2 separate regions of the Homo sapiens genome follow, and region 2 is linked to region 1. The links are contacts of gene promoters, found by promoter capture Hi-C in blood cells and fetal thymus (Javierre and others, 2016). All regions are on one chromosome and are shown on one strand. The core of a region is centred on a gene start or on the middle of the fragment in contact, and the rest is flanking DNA. Distances in the headings are between cores, read along the strand shown.

Region 1 (4,525 bases), core at 783-3,282:
CCTCCAACCTCACCTTCAATCTCACCTCCATCCTCACTTCTGAACTCACCTCCAGCCAGTCTTTGTTGATCCGACTGAGGAGGAAGATCACATCTCCAGCTTTGAAATTCAGCTCCAGTTTGCTGTTTCCAGTGAAGTCAAATAGAGCCTGAGGAGAAGCGTGCAGTAAGGAGGGAAGGAGAGAACACTCACTGAGTTCCTATAGAAGTGCCTTACATACTTTAGTCTCCCATTTTACAGATGTAGAAACTGAGGCTTGGGGAGAATAAGCGACTTCTCTGAGGCCACCCCATTTTTTAGTGGAGGAGCTGGGAATTGAACCCAGGTCTCCCTGACTCCAGGATGGGTGCTCCTTCCAAACCTGGTGGGGGTGAGCACACAGGGAAGGGTTCGAACTCTCTGGGCTGAGCACCCACCCTGGTCCCCAGGCTTCATCGTGGGCTGGGCCTTGTCTGAGTCATCTCTGCAGCTTCCATGCCTAAGGCAGGGCTGACTCAGAGGAGGCCCAGGTAAACTGTCCGGATGAGCGTAGGGATGGAAGCATTCTCCTCTGGCTCCGCACGCTGGTCACATGCCCTCCCCTTAGCTGGGCTCGGGGGACCCCCAGTGGCAGAGGCTGAGGCTGTAACCCCTTCCTTCCTCCTGGTGCCCAGCACTGTCCCAGGCACACAGCAGCACCCAGCAGGAGAGGCCCAGTGGCTGGCAGGTGGGCCAAGGCAGATGCCCACAGTGTGAGAGCCTGGCCAGCGTGGGGGCGGGGGTTACCTCTGCTCTCGGAGCTGCCATGCGGTCAACGCTGTTGCCCTGTGGGGACACGCTCTTGCTGTGGAGAGAGAAGAGGGGCTTGTTAGCCCTGTGATTCTCTCAGGGCCCAGCTTCCTGCTCCTGTGTCCAGAGGAGCCCCTTGCAAGGAGCAGGGAAGGCAGAGGAGACAGAAGATGCTGAAATGTGGCTGCAATTGCTCCTCTGGGCGGGCACACTTGTCCCCAAATCCTCACAACCTCTTTGGAGGTGGGATTGTTCTCCCTTCTTTATGGACCAGGAAGCCAGGCTCAGAAAGCAGGTGGGGAAGGGGATACACGCTCATTCGGTGCCTTTCACTTGCCAAAGTGTTCAGATGTGTTTGTTCCTCTGCTCCCTACAACCAAGCTCTGATGTAAATGTGACTGTTTCTAATTTTTCAGCTGAGGGAAACTGAAGGTTGGAGAGGTGAAGTGCCTTGCTCTGGGGCCTGCGGCTGCCACATGGCACAGCTGGAATTAAGACACACCTGCCTGTGTGCACAGGGGAGATGCCAGGCATGGAGAGGACCCTTGGAGACATTGGTGGGAGGAAGCAGAGGGAGGAGCTGGTGGGGAGCTCAGGAGCTCCGTCCTGCTTTTCCCAGAATTCTTAGTAGCAGCAACCTGGGCTTTGGAAGCCCAGCAGTCTACGAGTGGCTTGAATTTTTGGTGGGAAGGATGGGCTTTTTGGAATAAGGGAGGAACAGTGTGCTCTGGAGGCCAGCATGATACAACTAGAGCCATAGCTGGCCCCATGGAGCTCCAACACACCAGGGAGAAGGCATTCCCAGAGATGCTCAGAGAATGTTTGTGGATGGGGCAGCTTTTCCCTCCTCTCTGCCCCCAATTCTTTCCAGGCACCCAGAGCTTCTGGGCTATCCCCAGTAGTTGCTGTGGCACCAAACTCTCTGGAGTCAATATCCCAGTCCTCGTCTTCCAATCCTTATTATCACATTGAAAGGCACACACCCTCTGTCCCTCCAAGCCTGAACATGACTTTCTAAACCCATCTAATAAATCAAATCATCCTGGAGTGTCCAGGGATATGGCTGATCTGTATTTTCCTTCTCTCCTTTCAGGGAAAAGAGATGCTTTTCCAGCAGGGACCCAGGGCTCTGGCCATGTGGAAGCCCAGGGGCTGGTCACTTACACTTTCCGGGTGCGCGGGCGGAGCCGGCGGAGTGCCTGGGGCACCTGCTCTGAGTCATAGGGCGACTGGTAAAAGAAGATCCGGACGTCCTCATCCATCAGCACCCAGACCGGCAGGCTGAGCAGGCTCTGTGTGGGTGAGACAGCAGAACCGGTGGGGTAGTCAGCAGAAAGATCTGGACACCCCAGCCTAGATGTCCCGTCCCCGAGCCCTGACATCAGCCCTCCTCTCTTTACTAATGCATGATGCCTGATAACAGAAATGCGTTGTTTAAAAGAATAAGAAAACTCAGCATGCTGAAGGTAACACTTCACAAGCTCTGCTCCTGGGTCCAAGGTCAGGAGAGGGACCAGGGGCTTGAGAAGAGTCCATTTGGAAAAGACTTAAAGTTCTCCAGAAACAGCAGTAATGGTGATGACAACTAACATGACCCGGCGGTGACTTTACCAGGTGGGTATCACATGCGCGCCCTTGCTCCATCTCATGACATCCCTTGAGTTAGGATCAGAGAGGTGAAGGGATATGCTCAAGGCCACAAAGCCTAGCAAGGGACAGAGCTGGGGCACCCAGAGCCATCTGCCACTAAAGGCTACCCAAAGCTTAAGGTGAGACAACAGTTGGCGGGGGTGGGGGGCTCCCAAAATAACCCAAATTAACAACAGTTGGTGGCATTATAGCCTACAAAATGCTTCCTGATACTTTATCTCATATCATAGTTGAGGAAACTGATGCTTGGAGAGGGAAAGTACCTGGCCCAGAGGAGCCGAGCTAAGTGACAGGGCCCGGACTTGAGCCCTAGTGTCCTTGTTTCATCCAAGCTGGTTACACCCACCACGATGCAAAGACTTTGAAGCTGTGAGGACGCGAGCACCCAGAGCCTGGCGGGGTCATCTCACCAAACTCCAAGCGCACAGGTCTGGGGACACTGAGGGTTGGCTTTGGGTGCTGAGGCTCCAGAGGCACCCAGAGCCCTGCAGAGGATCCCATGGGGGCAGCAGGATGAGGTGGGGTCGGGGAACTTTGTCCGAGAGGAACTGGGGATGCAGAGCCCGGAAAAGGCTGTCATATGGGGACAGCCTGGGAGGTGTTTAAGGAGCCAGGGGCTCCTGGGATCGAATCCCAGCTCTGCCTGTCACCAGCTGGGTGGCTTTGGGCAAACCTGGCTCCAGATGGTCATTAATAAAATGGGGACAATAATAGCCTCTCCCTCGTGGGATTGTGTGAGAATTAAATGAGTAAATACATGCAGAATCCTTAGAACAACACCAGGCATATACCAGGTGCCCATCAAAGTTAGATGTCATCATTGTTACTGTGATTTTCATTACAACGAGGCACAGTGGGTAAGAGCTCAAACCCTGGAGTCACAGAGATGTGAATTCAAATCTCATCCCACCTACCTAACTGCTCTGTCACACTTAACTCACAAGTTATTGAGGGGATTAAATAAGATTATTCATTTATCAATAAACGTGTATCAAGAGTCTCCTGGTTGCCAGTCAAAGCTCTTCACGCAGTTCCAGGCAGTTGTCATTATCATGTGATTCACATTCTTCATGAGGGCGGGGTGAGACCAGTGGGTAGGACTTACAGAGAGTTGGGCTTTTCTCATAGCTGCCCAACAATGGGACAGGCAGCCTGGGTCAGGGCGGAGTGGTAGTGAGCTCCCCATCTCTGAGGGTATGCAAGCACAGGATGGGGTGGCCATGGCAGAGATTCCTGCCCTGAATGATCTCTGGCTTCCAGGAACCCAATTGGACACAAAGAGGCAGAGATGGATCCTCTGGGCTGCTGGTTGCTAAGACCAGGTGTGGAATGAGGAGCCCCAGTTCCCCAGCCTCGCCTCCTGCCTTCTCTTCCTCCTTCCCTCCCTCCCTCCCTTCACAGCCCACTCCCCTATTCTAGCCCAGGGGGAGAAGGGTGGAGCCTCAGCCACCCTGAAGGAGCAGCTGGAGCCCACCCAGCTCCCCTCCCTCCCTCTTCCCTGCTCAGAGCCCAGGATTCCTGCAGCTACCTGCTCTCTCCTCCTTCCTCCCACCTCCTCTGCCCTCCATCTGCTCCTTCCCTCCATCAGGAGTCAAGATCTCTCACATTCTGGAAGCAGGTTCACAGTTTACAAAGCACTTTCTCATCCTGTTCTCGACAGATCCCAACTTCACTCCTGTGATACTAGAGGGCACTGCCCCATTTCACAAGTGTGAAAACCAAGGCCTAGAGAGGATGGGCAACTCACCCCAAATCACCCAGCCAGTCAGTGTCAGAGTCAAGACTAAAGGATCCTAGCCCAGCGCTCTCCAGCTGTGAGGATGCCGCTGGGCTGGGAGGAGGGCTTCGCTTGCCAGCTTCCTGAGGTCACTATCAGGTCTCTAGCGACGGTGCACTCACTGCCACCTCATGAGGAACACTGCCCCTTTCCTGGATGGCTGTGGCTGGTGGAAGTCCTTTCCTGACCACCTTGGCCTCTGCCTTTAAGATGCTCCTTCCTCTACGCTCCCATCTCATAGAGATGCAGAGTTTGCAAGTCGGAGAATACACAAGGGCCCCCAGCCAAGACCCATGAGTGTAGCTAAAATCCAGCCCATGTTCACGTAAG
Region 2 (4,525 bases), core at 1,519-4,018, 92 kb after region 1:
AGATTTTGCCCCCCAGGGGACATTTGGCAATGTCCAGGGACATTTTTGGTGGTCTCAGCAAGGGAGCTTGCTCTGGCATCTAGTGGGCAGAGGACAGAGATGCTGTCTATATTGCTCAGGACAGCCCCCATAACTAAGAACCCTTCACCCCCAAATGTCAATAGTGCCGAGGTAGGGAAACCCTGATCTAAATACATAAAATTTCTACAAATCTATTAGCACTCTCTTTTTGGCATTGCCTCTGACATGAGGGCATTTGAGCAAATCTGCTTTAATGTATGAAAGATATTCTTCTTGAGAATTCATGCAGAATCACTCTCAATTATTTAATTTCCCCTAAAATCTCCTATTTACCCAATTGTTGGATTCCATCCAACAATTCTGCTACTACACCCTATAAGTGAAGGGGCTGTGATGGGGCCCAGGCAGAAGGAGAACCCCCTGGCTGTCAAGACACAGTGGCAAAGGGGCTTGGGCCCTGCATTGGGGATGATCAGCCCTGGCGCTGTGCGTGGAATGTTGCTGCTGTCCCTGGCAGGGAGCCGTGGCTCATCCGCATGCTGCTCTTCAGGGATGTCGGGACGTGTTCAACCCCAGGATGATTGAACAATTTCTGGGAACAACTTGTCAGCAGCTGCCCCTCCACTCCCCTCTTATCCAAAGCCCCAGTAATCAGCCCCAACAGTCTAGTCCCTGGCTTTGGGAAGCAGCACTGTTAATACTTCCTCTTCCACAGAGCATATGGGTGTAGCTAGGGGTGCAGGCTAGGGGTGGGAGAGGACCCAGGATGAGGTTACCCCATCTGAATGGTCATTGCACATCTCTCAGTAGTAAGCCCATTGCTTGCCCAAAAACTGATATTCAAGAGTTGGTGCTTGTTGAATGAATGAATACACAACCGGAAGGGTAAACCCTATGAGAGTCATTCATTCATTCAGAAGTATTTACGGGGTGCCTCACCATGCAGGGGACTGTCCTAGATACTGGGTGAACAAAAGAGACCAAGTGTCAGTTCTCATGAAGCTTACCTTCTAGTGGAGGGCGACAGATACCATATAAATAAACTAATAAATATGGAATATAGGTGGCCCTCTGCATCCACGGGTTCCACATCTCTGGATTCAACTAACTGCACATTGCAAAAATAAAAAAATAACAATACAACAATAAAAATAATACAGATAAAATACAGTATACCAATATTTCTATAGCATTTCCATTGTATTAGTTATTGAAAGTAATCTAGAGGTGACTTAAAGTATACAGGAGGACGTGTGTAGGTTTTGTGCAAATATTACAACATTTTATATAGGGGACTTGAGTAGCCCTGGATTTTGATATCCATGGTTACCAATCCCCCACGGATACAGAGGGACAGACTGTGTAATCTCTGGTAGTAGTGAACGCTATGAAGAAAGTAAAGTAAGTCAAGGATATTGAGACTGACAGATTGGGGGCGATGCTTAAATTGTGTGTTTGGGAGGGCTCCCCGAAGGCATGACGTTTGAGCTGAGATCTGAAGATCATGAAGGAGAGTCATACAGCCTCATTGGGAACAGTGCGTACAAAGGCCCTGCGGTGGGAACGTTCCCGAGGAGCTTGAAAAACAGTAAAATGACCCAATAGAGTAGATAAAGGTGGGTCCTGGCATTAGCTAAGAAAAGCAGTTCTCAACATGAGCTTGTGTCGGAGTCACCAGGAGGCCTTATGGAAGCAGATTGTGGGCTCCACCTCCAGTGTTCAGCTGGTCAGGGGTGGGGCCTGGGAAAATGCATTTCTTACTAATCCCCAGGTGATGCTGGTGTGCCAGTCCAGGGATCAGAGCATAGGGTATTTGTTCTTTCTGCACCACATCCTCCCCTATTCAACATTGACTACATGCAATCATAGATCATTACTGCTTGATCATCTGCCGCTCCACTGGGCTAGATGGTTCTGTCCACCTCTACGTCCTAGTGCTTAGCAAGCACTCAACAGAATATTTGTTGAATTAATTCCTCAAACAAGGGTTCTACTCTGGGTCTTGCCATTCCACCGTGTGTTCCATCTGCTGCCCTCCCAGAGCTCTGAGCCTTTGCATGTGCTGACCCATCCACCCAGCATTTGCCTTCCCCTGTGTCCACCTCGCAAATTCCTACAAGGCTCTCCTTTCAGAATATCCTTCCCGACTCCCTCTCCATCCACCCAGGGTTAGGAATGCTCCTCGAGGTGTACATAGGGAGTCCCATATCCACCTGTGGCACAGTGACTTGTCCACATGTTGGTCTTCCTTTCTTTACCAAAGATCGTAGATGAGCAGCCCCCAGGTTGAACCGGTCAACAGAGGTTTCTACTGCAGCTACAGTGTTTTAAATTTAAGTTCATTGCCAACACTAACAGGTCAGGGGATTTCACACAAAAATCCAGATTCCTGGCTCCTCTAGAAAAGTGTGCAACCCTGGGCCCGTATTCCCACATTGCCGTGATATCTCACCCAGAGGTAAAGCCTGGGGCTCTGTCATCCCCACCCTTCAGTGGATCCAGCAACCAACACCATGCCTGGCTGATGGTAGGCACTCAAGAAAAGCTAATTAATGAAAATGGAGAGACTATGCTGGATAATGGGGGAAAACAAAGAAACAAACATTGGTCCCCAGAGTCAAGAGATCTGAGGCTGGTTCTGGATCTGGCTGACTTGTTGCATGACCTTGGCCTCTCTGTGGCTCTTTCCTTTCTTCAAATGAATGAGAGTTTCCACTTCCCAGGGTCATGGTTTCATACAGGAGAGAGGATGTGAAGTGCTTAGCAGATGCCTCACATCTAATGCTCAATCAACGCAAGTTATTACGGCAAGGAACTCAATAAGTATTTGCTCTTTAGGAAGGGTGAGAAGGAGTTCAAATCCATCTCTGCTACTCACTAGCTAGGTGACCTTCGGTGTTTCACTTAATCTCATTTGGGCCCTAGTTTCCCCATCTATCAAATGGGGATGATACATGGTTATTGTGAATATCAAATGTAAATGTGAAATTAAACTAATTAATCCCTAAAATCACTTAGAACAAGGCCAGCCTTAAGTCTGTGGTCAACATAGGCCAGCTGTGACTATTAGAGCTGCTCAGAAATGGGATAACTCGAATTGCTCAGGAGCCCCCATGGCTCCAAAATTCTCTGACCACCTTAAACCTAGTGACTCTCATTCAGCTTACCTTCAGTCACAGAAATGTATAGAAGGCCCTTGGGTCCATGAGGTGAAGGGGGACAGAATTCACCATACAAGTGTTTACCATCTCTCTAGAAAGTTCTACAATGCTCTTATGATAATGCTGACTAAAATCACACAGAGTAGCAGCAACAAAAGGGAGACAGTGGGTGGGGAACAGAGAACAGCCCTGGGAGGGAGGTGTGATTATTACCTGCAAGAGTTAAAGAAAGAGGCAAGAAACATGAAAAGTGGCTCAACAGTTAAATACAGGTTTATTTTGGAGCATAAACCTGAGAGGGGCTTCTGGCCAATTTCAGTCAGGAGTGCTCTCTCTTACAGACTAAGAGTATTTAAGGGTTTAGGGCAAGAGAGCTTACCACAGGCTTGGAATGTTTCTGTGTGGAGGAGAAGTTTACTGTGGGGTTGGAATGTCTCCGGTCTGAGGGTGGGTTATGTTGGGGCTGACATCTCTCTGACCAGAGGGGAGGTTATCTTGGGGCTGCATGTCTCTGGTCGGGGGGTGGGTTTATCTTAGGGTTGGAATGTTTCTGATTGGAGATGTCACTTGTGGTTTATGGTCATTCTGACATTAGCCATTAGGCTGATGCCCTTTGGGTTGAATTTAGGCCGTTTTTGATCAAGGAGAACTTTAAAATGGCAGTGCTTGTCCAAGATGGCTATGCTCCGGCTCTGTCATTACCCACCTCGCAAAATGAAGGAACCAAGGCTTCGGAGGCTGCCCTGATGTGTGTCTGTGTCTTAGCTACGTGGAGCTGCCTCGGGAGGGTGACTCACCAAATGGGGTCCTTTAAGGGATTAACAGGGTCACTCATGGTGAACAGGTTGGCCTGGAGGGGAGCCGGCAAGAGGAAGGCAGAAGACCAGAAAGAGGCTTTTTGCTCACTCAGACCTGGATGTCTGAGACAGACTCACGTGATGTCACCAAAGAAGAAAAGCAGTTACGAGAAATGAAGGAGAAACAGACCTTTACCGTAGCGCCAGGAATGAATCCCAAGGAAAGAACATCTCAGACAACTTGCATTTACTCTGGATTCGGGGCTGAAACCATCAGCCATTCATAGAGTGTGTGTGTTTATTCCCCCACACAAGGCTGGCAGCCACTCTGAGATGCAGAGTGGCGGAGAGGTGGAATGTTCTAGGTGTCTGGAGGGAATGTGGAACTTTCGCACAGGCACCTTTGCTGAGGGGCTGCTCTTCCCTTCAGCATCAGCCATCAGAATCCCAGGGGCCCTGAGAAAGTGAGAACAAGGGGTACATTCGGCCAACCAGTGACAGTGATGATAAACCAAATCTGTCCAGATAAGCTTCCGCTCTCCCATC

Evidence for each region. Contacts are between HindIII fragments. The CHiCAGO score rates a contact against its expected background, and 5 or more counts as called.
Region 2: a fragment that was not itself captured here is called in contact with the fragment with the promoter of NCF4-AS1 in region 1 in 1 of 17 cell types (endothelial precursors); the score reaches 5.4 in endothelial precursors.

The regions. Positions count from the first base shown.
Region 1 is chr22:36,867,950-36,872,474 of GRCh38, reverse strand. It overlaps NCF4-AS1 (NCF4 antisense RNA 1), which reads left to right and starts at 2,032. Exons shown (of 2, transcript NR_147197.1): 1 at 2,032-2,382. It overlaps NCF4 (neutrophil cytosolic factor 4), which reads right to left. Exons shown (of 10, transcript NM_000631.5): 5 at 1,933-2,060; 6 at 766-823; 7 at 50-148. RefSeq lists an enhancer at 144-682. The HindIII fragment of the contact is 14,249 bases long and covers 1-2,533 here.
Region 2 is chr22:36,777,105-36,781,629 of GRCh38, reverse strand. No RefSeq gene overlaps it. Among named protein-coding and RNA genes, the nearest start is that of IFT27, 3.2 kb to the right of the region's middle. RefSeq lists an enhancer at 4,119-4,525. The HindIII fragment of the contact is 3,486 bases long and covers 1,026-4,511 here.